2 separate regions of the Homo sapiens genome follow, and region 1 is linked to region 2. The links are contacts of gene promoters, found by promoter capture Hi-C in blood cells and fetal thymus (Javierre and others, 2016). All regions are on one chromosome and are shown on one strand. The core of a region is centred on a gene start or on the middle of the fragment in contact, and the rest is flanking DNA. Distances in the headings are between cores, read along the strand shown.

Region 1 (4,644 bases), core at 993-3,492, 260 kb after region 2:
ACATTGTGGAATGGCTATATTGAGCTAATAACATGGATTTCTATACATATTTATCATTTTTTTGTTGTGGGAAAATCAGCAATTTTCACTAGAATATTTTAAATATACAATGATGATGAATTACATGGCAGTCTAGAATACAGTTAAGAGCACCTACTTTGAAGCCTTACTAACTGGTTTGATTCCTGGCCCTGCCAATTAATTAGTTGTGTGACCTTAGGTAAATTACTTAACATCTCTGTGCCTCAATTCTTTGACTGTAAAATGGAAATAATTGTTTTTATCTCATAGAGTTGTTGTGAAGATTTAATGAATTAGTAATATATGTAATATATGCCTGGAACAGTGCCTGGCACAAAGTAAGCTCTACATAAATGTTAGATGAATGTTAGGCTAGGTGTCATTATGTTTGATTTTTTTTTTTTTTTTTTTTTTTTTTAATGAGAATACCCATTATGGTGGACTGGACAAGTATAGAATTCCTGTTGGGAAGCCAGTATTGCAAAGGGGAGACATGATAGACTCCCATTTAGAAATTGACTGTTTAATCCTAAATATACTTTGAATTTATTGTTTGTTACCTGTTCAAAGTTTGTCACTACCCATTCTTAATTTGGAGAGCTCCAGCACCAAATAACCCTACTGTGTCCTTAGCTATCAAATGACCTACAGAAAGTCATGGAATTGTTGTGATGGTGTCTGCTGTATATAAGTATCCTATGTCTTATGTCTTCAGCTGACCTGCTTAGTAGTCCGTAATTTCATCTCCTTATTCCCTATCACATTTTCTACATAGTATGTTCCAAACATTTTTCATTGTCCTCTGACAGGCATCTAATCCCCCATGTTTTGTAAGGATTGAAACTGACAGAAATTTTTTTTTTTTTTTTTTGAGACAGAGTCTCACTCTGTCTTCCAAGCTGGAGTGCAATGGTGTGGTCTCGGCTCACTGCAACCTCCCCTTCCTGGGTTCAAGCGATTCTCCTGCCTCAGCCTCCTGAGTAGCTGGAATTACAGGCGCCTGCCACCACACCTGGCTAATTTTTGTATTTTTAGTAGAGACGGGGTTTCACTGTGTTGGCCAGGCTGGTCTTGAACTCCTGACCTTGTAATCCGTTCGCCTCAGCTTCCCAAGTAGCTAGGACCACAGGTGCACACCACCATACCTATCTAATTTTTCTCTGTGTGTGTTGTGTGTGTGTAGGGACTACAAGGCATGAGCCACCAGGCCCGGCCTATTTCTCCTTCTTTGTCTGCCCTTTCCACCTTGCCCTTTCTCCCTCTTCTCCACTTTTTCCCTTCTCTCATCTCTCTCTGCATCACCACCACGTCAGTACATATTCTTTGCCTGCTAATGCCATTTCCTCTATCTACTTCTGAACCCTTTAATTTTTTACTTTAGTCTCCATTCTACAGAAACTGCTCTGAGTTTACTAATGGTTCCTGAGTTACCTGGTCCAGTGTCCTTTTCCTTGTCCATGACTTCCGAATGGCATTTCACACTGAAGCCAATCAACCACTTCTAGAAATTATCTTTTACTTAGGCTGCTGTCAGCAACCCCTAATTCTTTTTTTTTTTTAGAGATGGAGTTTTGCTCTTTTTGCCCAGGCTGGCGTACAGTGGCATGATCTCAGCTCACTGCAACCTCCGCCTCTCAGGTTCAAGCGATTTTCCTGCCTCAGCCTCTCTAGTAGTTGGGATTACAGGTGCCCACCACCACACCTGGCTAATTTTTGTATTTTTAGTAGAGATGGGGTTTCACCATGTTGGCCGGGCTGGTCTTGAACTCCTGACCTCAGGTAATCCCCCTGCCACAGCCTCTCAAAGTGCTGGGGTTACAGGCTTGAGCCATTGCACCCAGCCCCCTAATTATTCTTACTCTATACTAAGTTCTTTTTTTCCCCTACCTTTGTAAATGTAGGCATTCCCCCAAAGTTCATAATTCATTTAATGCAGGTAAAGTAACACAGACTTCGGTGTCACAAAAACAGTGGGTTTGGATTCTACCTTTACCACTTCCTGAGTGACCTTAGGCAAGAAGCTTTGTGAACTTCAACTTCTTATCTGTAGATAACACTGTATTTCATCAGATTTATTAGAGGAAAAAGAAAATACATGTAAGAACATATTTTGTGGACTATAAAGCGCTATTTTTTTTTTCTTACTTTCCCTTGGTGATTGCATTTCCATTCACCTCTCCCACACTAAAGAAGAGTTAGTGTTTCTAACTACTAACTAGACATCTCCATCTGTAATTTCCAGTTTGTTAATGACACCACCATCTTTTTAGTCACTCTTGAGTTCCTTCTTTCCTTTGCCCATCATTTGCAATATACTGCTAGACTTTGATTGTACTTCTACATTCTGTGTGCAACTCTTCCTTTCCATTCCCATTAATATAACTCTGACTTGTTGCCTAGATTAATCCTGTGGCCTCCTAACCAAGCTTCAGCTTTTCTTCGTTTTATCTTGAATACCAGTATTGATTATTCTCCCACAATATTAGTTCTAGTCATGTTTTGCTGTCTCTCCATTGCCTATAGAATAAAATCTTAAACTTCTTACTTTACATCTACTATTACATGACCTAAATCTACCATCCTGTTTTGTCTTTCATTAGTCCACTTCACACACACCCTTTAAACCTGACAGTCTTGTTCACTGAACAAGTCCTTAGTTTCCTGTCTTGCCTTTATTTTCAGTCTCTGCTTATCAGAATCTCATCTGTCTTGTATGACCCAGCCTAAATGGCACCCGCCTTGTACCCCAAACCAAGAGCAGTATTTCCCTCTGTTTTCATTGTATCACTGTCTCTGGTAGAACCTAACATGTTCTGCTTTGTTTTCATATCCCATGTGCACTATTGTGTTCTAAGCTCATTTTATGTGATTCTTTGTCTCCCCCAAGGATTTAACACTCTGCTTTTGTACAATGCATGTTGTTTAAATTAAAAGTGTTTGGAGTCTTTAACTATTTTTTTTTCCCAACAATAGGTTTATGCTAAAACTATCGATGGGCAACAGACTATTATTGCATGTATTGAAAGCCACCAGTTTCAGCCTAAAAACTTCTGGTAAGAAGTAGATATTCTCTTCTATTTACATCTGAAAGAAACCAGCAGTTGAGACTTGGTTTTTAATCCAACTAGCTTGGAATAATTATTTAACTTACAGACTTCAGTTTTCCATCTATAAATGAGGGATTTAGATTCCTTACAGTTCTAAGGTTTTATAATTATATTTTCCTTTAAAAGTTACTCTTATTTTGAGTGAGAACAAGTGATTAGTAAAGTGCCCTGTTGAAAATCTGAGTTTTACTTGGCTTAGGGTTACTGCTACTTGAGTTAATTGTGTAACTCAGCAGCCTATTCATCTGATTTTGGAAGAGCCTCCCATGAGCAGAATAGGCATGGTTTTCCATTTCAAGGGAAAAAAGGAAAAATGAAAGACAAAATAACTTAGAAAAGGCTTATGGTCAGGCCACTTAGATCCAGACTTACATTTGAGTAGACAGAGCTTTGGGTTTGCCAAACTGGAAATGACAGTTTCTCTCTCTCTCTTTTTTTTTTTCTTTTTTTGCACCCCTCTTTCCCAACTTCTGTACCTCAGTGGCAAATCACCTCTTTCTTGTGCTTATTGCTAATTCTGCAATGTTGTGTGTGTGTTTTAATAGGAATGGTCGTTGGAGATCAGAGTGGAAGTTCACCATCACACCACCTACAGCCCAGGTGGTTGGCGTGCTTAAGATTCAGGTGAGATTCCAACATGTTTATAGACTTAAAACTTCACATCTTTAAAACATGTGCAGGTTGCTTTGGTATTAAATAAGGACCAAGTATGTGTAGATGCAAAGGGAGACTGATGGCAGTGAATAGAAATAGAAGCCTCCTTCTTGGGGTGGTAAACAGAGAGAGCTATTCTGAGTTGATAAAGGATAGCATGTAGAGTGTATGGCAACATGGTTATTGTTATTTTTCCTTCAATGGTAACATAAGATATAACTAGGAATTATCAAACAGCAGTTTTAGGAAAGATTTAAAATTAATAATAATAATAATTATTATTTTTTGGGACAGAGTTTCACTCCATCACCCAGACTGGAGTGCAGTGACGTGATCTCAGCTAACTGCAACCTCCACCTCCCAGCCCAGGCTGGGTTAATTCCTAAAAATTATAACTAGAGAGAATGGCAGGTGTTTTGGAATATAAATAGCCAAGCAGAAGTAGATTGATTGATTGATTGATTGATTGACTGATTGATTGATTTTTGAGATGGAGTTTTGCTCTTATTGCCCAGGCTGGAGGTGCAATGGCATGATCTCGGCTCTTCGCAATCTCTGGCTCCTGGGTTCAGGTGATTCTCCTGCCTCGGCCTCCCGAGTAGCTGGGATTACAGGCATGCGCCATCACGCCTAGCTAATTTTCTATTTTTAGTACAGGCGGGGTTTCTCCATGTTGGTTAGGCTGGTCTCGATCTCCTGACCTCAGGTGATCCACCCGCCTCGGCCTCCCAAAATGCTGGGATTACAGGCGTGAGCCACTGCACCTGGCCCAGAAGTAGATTTTTAATGCTGATGTCAGGGTAGACAGGCAGCTGAATAAGATAGCTGTTAACTCATTTGATGCCTGTCTGGATTGAAGTTT
Region 2 (4,224 bases), core at 1,135-3,634:
TCACAGAGCACTGCTCCCACCCAGTCAGCCAGGGAAAAGAATGGGTGGTGGTGGGTTAACAGCTACAAAGGGAATGAGGGAAAGAAAGGAGGACCTGCCGGGCATGGTGGTTTACGCCTGTCATCCCAGCCACTTTGGGAGGCCAGCAGGTGGATCACCTGAGGTCAGGAGTTTGAGACCAGCCTGGCCAACATGGCAAAACCCCATCTCTACTAAAAATATAAAAATTAGCTGGGCACAGTGACAGGCGCCTATAATCCCAGCTACTCGGAAAGCTGAGGCAGGAGAATCGCTTGAACCCAGAAGGCGGAGGTTGTAGTGAGAGATTGCGCCATTGCACTCCAGTCTGGGAGACAGAGCGAGACTCCATCTCGATAAAAAAAAAAAAAAAAAAGAAAAGAAAAACAAGGGAGGAGCTGATTCACTAGAACAACTCTTAGAGTGACTCAGAAGCCAGCAGAAAATAGCTTGTTCTCCCACATCTGCTTCATTGTCAGGCGATGAGGCACTTCCTCATTGCATACACATAGGCAGAGCGAAAGGGAGGAGGAGGAAATGGGATTTTTCAAGTTCCTTTGCCTGCTCCAGCACCTAACACTCTGTATTTGTAATCATTTCAGACATTTTGTTTCAAGTCAATATTTATTGAGTACCTACTCTGTGCCTGGCCCCTCATTTTAGCTTTCAGATTGTCAGTTTTCAGAACACAAGGCATAATGCCTTTCTGAAGTTCAGTATACCCTGCATCATTACTCCAGATTCACTTACACTGCTATCGAGCACCTTCACTCATAGTCTTGCTATCCTTCATATACAGAGATGACCCTCCCAAGCCTAAAATCAACAGGGGGAGGCATAGAGCTGTCCTTCTGGCTCTAATGTTTGCTTTACCATCATCCACGCCCATTCTTAGTCCAGCATGTGAGAGCCAGTGTGAAGTGAGCAGAATATGGCATAAGTATGGAGTCATACATCCTTACTGGAAATTCTTTACCATTTACTAGCTCTATGACTTTATTTGACTTCTCTGAATCTCTATCTTCTCATCTGTAAATTGGACACAATGATGTCTATCCTACACTGTAGGATAGATTTCTCATACAGCACTGAAAATGACATCAAATACCATTAAATGAAAGTACATGGCACAGTGATAACATGATAAATACTTGTTTACTTCTTTCAGACTATAATCGCACAAACTGATCACATCCCTCAGTCAGACTGTAAACTGCATGAGGCAGGCTGCATCTGCCTTGGGGACTGTCTGCCTAGGCAAGCACTAGGTCCCTAATGCTGTCTTGCGAATTATAATTGCTAAGTTTAGGGATAATGTATTAAGTGTACTACATTATTTATGCATTATGAATATTCGTCTCAAATATTTATTATATTGTATTTTAAATAATGTGGTTATTGTAAATGTAACCAGCTGCATCAATCTGTGAGCTGACAGCCATTCTGTGGAAAAGGAATTCAGAAACTTTGACCTTAGGTAGGGATACAACTAGTTATACATCCACTCCCCTCTCTGAGTTATTTGGTCCTGCCTAAGACTTGCTGCCACCAAGATCTGCATTCCTGTGTTCACAAGGCAGACATTCCTTGCATCCTCTGTACTCTCCATTGTTTCAACTTCACTGCAAACACCATTCCCCACAATATAATGAGGCCAAGGAAAGAAAAAAGTCGCCTCAGCTGGCAAGCATAGGGTGGAAAAACCTGCCACACAAATTTGCAATTATTTGACTTCCGCCTGGAAGGCAGGTCGGCTGGGTTTATGTCCCCCAAAGTTAGTATCCTCTTCTGTACAAAATGTGGTTGAGAGAAGGGTGATCTCCAGGTGTTTCATCTTTGCACCCTTGCTTCCAGCACCACGCCCACAGGCGCTTCCAGAAAAAAGAAAAAAAAAAAGGGAGCAAGGAAGCCAGGTTTTTCAACAACGAATTCATTCTAATGCAGACACCAAAGCCCACTTCATTTATTAACATTCTGGATAAAATCCCAATCGATTAGGCCACCAGAGCCCTCCATTCCTAAACTCCGCGTACAGTCAGGTAAAAGCACGAAGCACTAGTCACGGTCCTGCCCAGACTTTTCACGCAGAGGTGGAAAGTTGCAGACCCCGAGCCGGGAGGGGCGCGAGCCCACCCTGAAGCCCAGGACCCAGGAGGGCGCTTCCTCCCGGAAGTGACGCGAGCTCAATCCCGGCCTTGCTCTTCCCAAACAAAAGGGATCTTGGGGCCCCGGGAGGAGCCTGAATGACTTTGGAGAAGCCCCGCCTCCAGCCGGCGCGGATTGGGGCCGAGGCTGGAGAAGCAAGGAGGCGATTGGCGCTGGTGAATGCCAATGCCCCCGCCGGGCGGCTGAGGGGGCGGAGCCTCAGCCGCTGTGGATGGGGAGTGGAGGCGGAGGGGAGCGGAGCCCGGAGCGTCGTGGAAAGGTAGGAGCAACTATCCCTGGGGCTTGGTGATGGCTGGGAGGCCGGGTTCTCAAGAGCAAAGCAAGGATAGGGGCACCGGTAGCCTCCCGCCGCCGTCTCAACGGCCTCTGGGCCCATCCCCTGAGGGGGCGGGGCCGTCTCCTCCACCTCCCGGTATTCCCCGAGGAGGCGGCTCCTCATCCTCCGAGGGTCCTCACAGCTACTTTTTGTCCCTCGTCGATTCCCAGCTCCTCAGAAGGGGCTTCCCTCTGACACCCCTCATTCAAAGGCACCTCCCACCCCGCACCTCAGCCTTGGCGGAGAGGACTCACAGGTACCGATTCTCTAGGCTGCCGCCCCCAACCCCATTTCGTACCCCCGGAAGGCCAAACATCCCTCCCTACACCTGTCCCTGCTCGCCAGGGTGGGACTGGAGCTGCTTTCCTCCGTAAGATAAAATTGGTGTTTCCCAAAAAGGAGGGATGGGGCGAAGCAAAAATCAAAGACCGACCTAGACAGCCAGCTTTACGGAGGAAGCGGCTTCTCCCACTTAAGTTCTTCCCATCCCCCATTCTCTGATGCTCAGTCTTCCTCCCGCAGCCCCTCGCATCCTCTGGCCTCTTGTGAGGAGTCGAGAGCTCTCCTGTTTTGGGACTGTTTTGGACTGTGAAAGAGGGAGAACTAGGACCTCCTCTCCTTCACCCTTTGTACCTTCCTTCTACTTTCTGTTCCTTCTGGGAGCACCCAGCCTCTAAGGGTTTCTTAGGTTTGAATTGCGTTTCATTTTTCCTTTTCCACCCTATTTCCTCCCTGAGAACTTGATGAAAAGCCATCTTATATTTCACAGTGAGGTGGGTGTGTTGGATATCTGCAGAGCTGGCTTTGTGTGGGCAGGAATGCAGTATATGTTGCTTGACAGTCAATGAATAACACCATGTTTTCAAATGAAACAGTATACATAAGTAAATAAGTAGCAGTGGATTAGGAATGAGTATATCCCAGTCTAGGGTGGGCTGGTCCATTGCTCAGGGAGACTGCAGTTAACCTTGAAGGTATACTGCAGGTTGAAACAAAAGACAGGAAGTGTTTGAAGAAAATTCAGGGTCAGTCATCTAGGTTTATGATTAATCTAGTCCTATGTCCTTTGGTAACTCTCTAACCCCTTTTTTATAGTGTCCTCCCCGCCCCCAGGAAACATTCATGTATATTTTGATTGGTTTTACGATCATCTATCAAAATTTAGAGGATGAAAAGTAAGAACAATTTTTAAATCTCAGAGATAAGAGTAAATAAAGGCAAGGTATTCTAGCTATTCATGTTTACCAAAAAGTGCCTCTTCTAGTGTGCTCCTAAAGGTTTTGTCAAGTGGTCTTCATTTCAGCAGGTGCAAAGTGTTGATTTTGACCTCATGTTAATGTCGTTGAATCCCCAGTAATCATCTATTGCTAGCGCTTTTATATATTAAAATTTACCATGTTTTTAGCATAGTTTCTTTTGCTTCCAATCTCAAGTCTACCTCCCCTCTGTCAGCTATAGCCAAAGCTGATGGCAATAAAATGCAAGGAGTTGGAATCACGGAGGGTGATTGTAATGACTGTTGTCTTTTACCTTCTTGATTAGACTTTCTGAAGGTAGACTTCCTAAAGATAATTACTTTTGAATAGTTAGGTTTGAAGTTTTCAGAGCCACTCGGTGCTCACAGGTCTTCTCAGTGATTGTTTCCAAATCTCCAGTAAGAAAGTACAAAGAAGAAACTGGAGGGTGTCTCTAGCAAACGCAATGTGTGCTGCAATAGAAGGGTA

What was found. Contacts are between HindIII fragments. The CHiCAGO score rates a contact against its expected background, and 5 or more counts as called.
Region 1: a contact is called between a fragment that was not itself captured here and the fragment with the promoter of CTTNBP2NL in region 2, in 4 of 17 cell types (naive B cells, M2 macrophages, endothelial precursors and 1 more). The highest score is 7.6, in naive B cells.

What each region holds. Positions count from the first base shown.
Region 1 is chr1:112,656,028-112,660,671 of GRCh38, forward strand. It overlaps CAPZA1 (capping actin protein of muscle Z-line subunit alpha 1), which reads left to right. Exons shown (of 10, transcript NM_006135.3): 6 at 2,995-3,074; 7 at 3,674-3,752. Among named protein-coding and RNA genes, the nearest start is that of MOV10, 16 kb to the right of the region's middle. The HindIII fragment of the contact is 405 bases long and covers 2,041-2,445 here.
Region 2 is chr1:112,393,830-112,398,053 of GRCh38, forward strand. It overlaps CTTNBP2NL (CTTNBP2 N-terminal like), which reads left to right and starts at 2,385. Exons shown (of 6, transcript NM_018704.3): 1 at 2,385-2,443. RefSeq lists a silencer at 2,583-2,632. The HindIII fragment of the contact is 10,453 bases long and covers 1-4,224 here.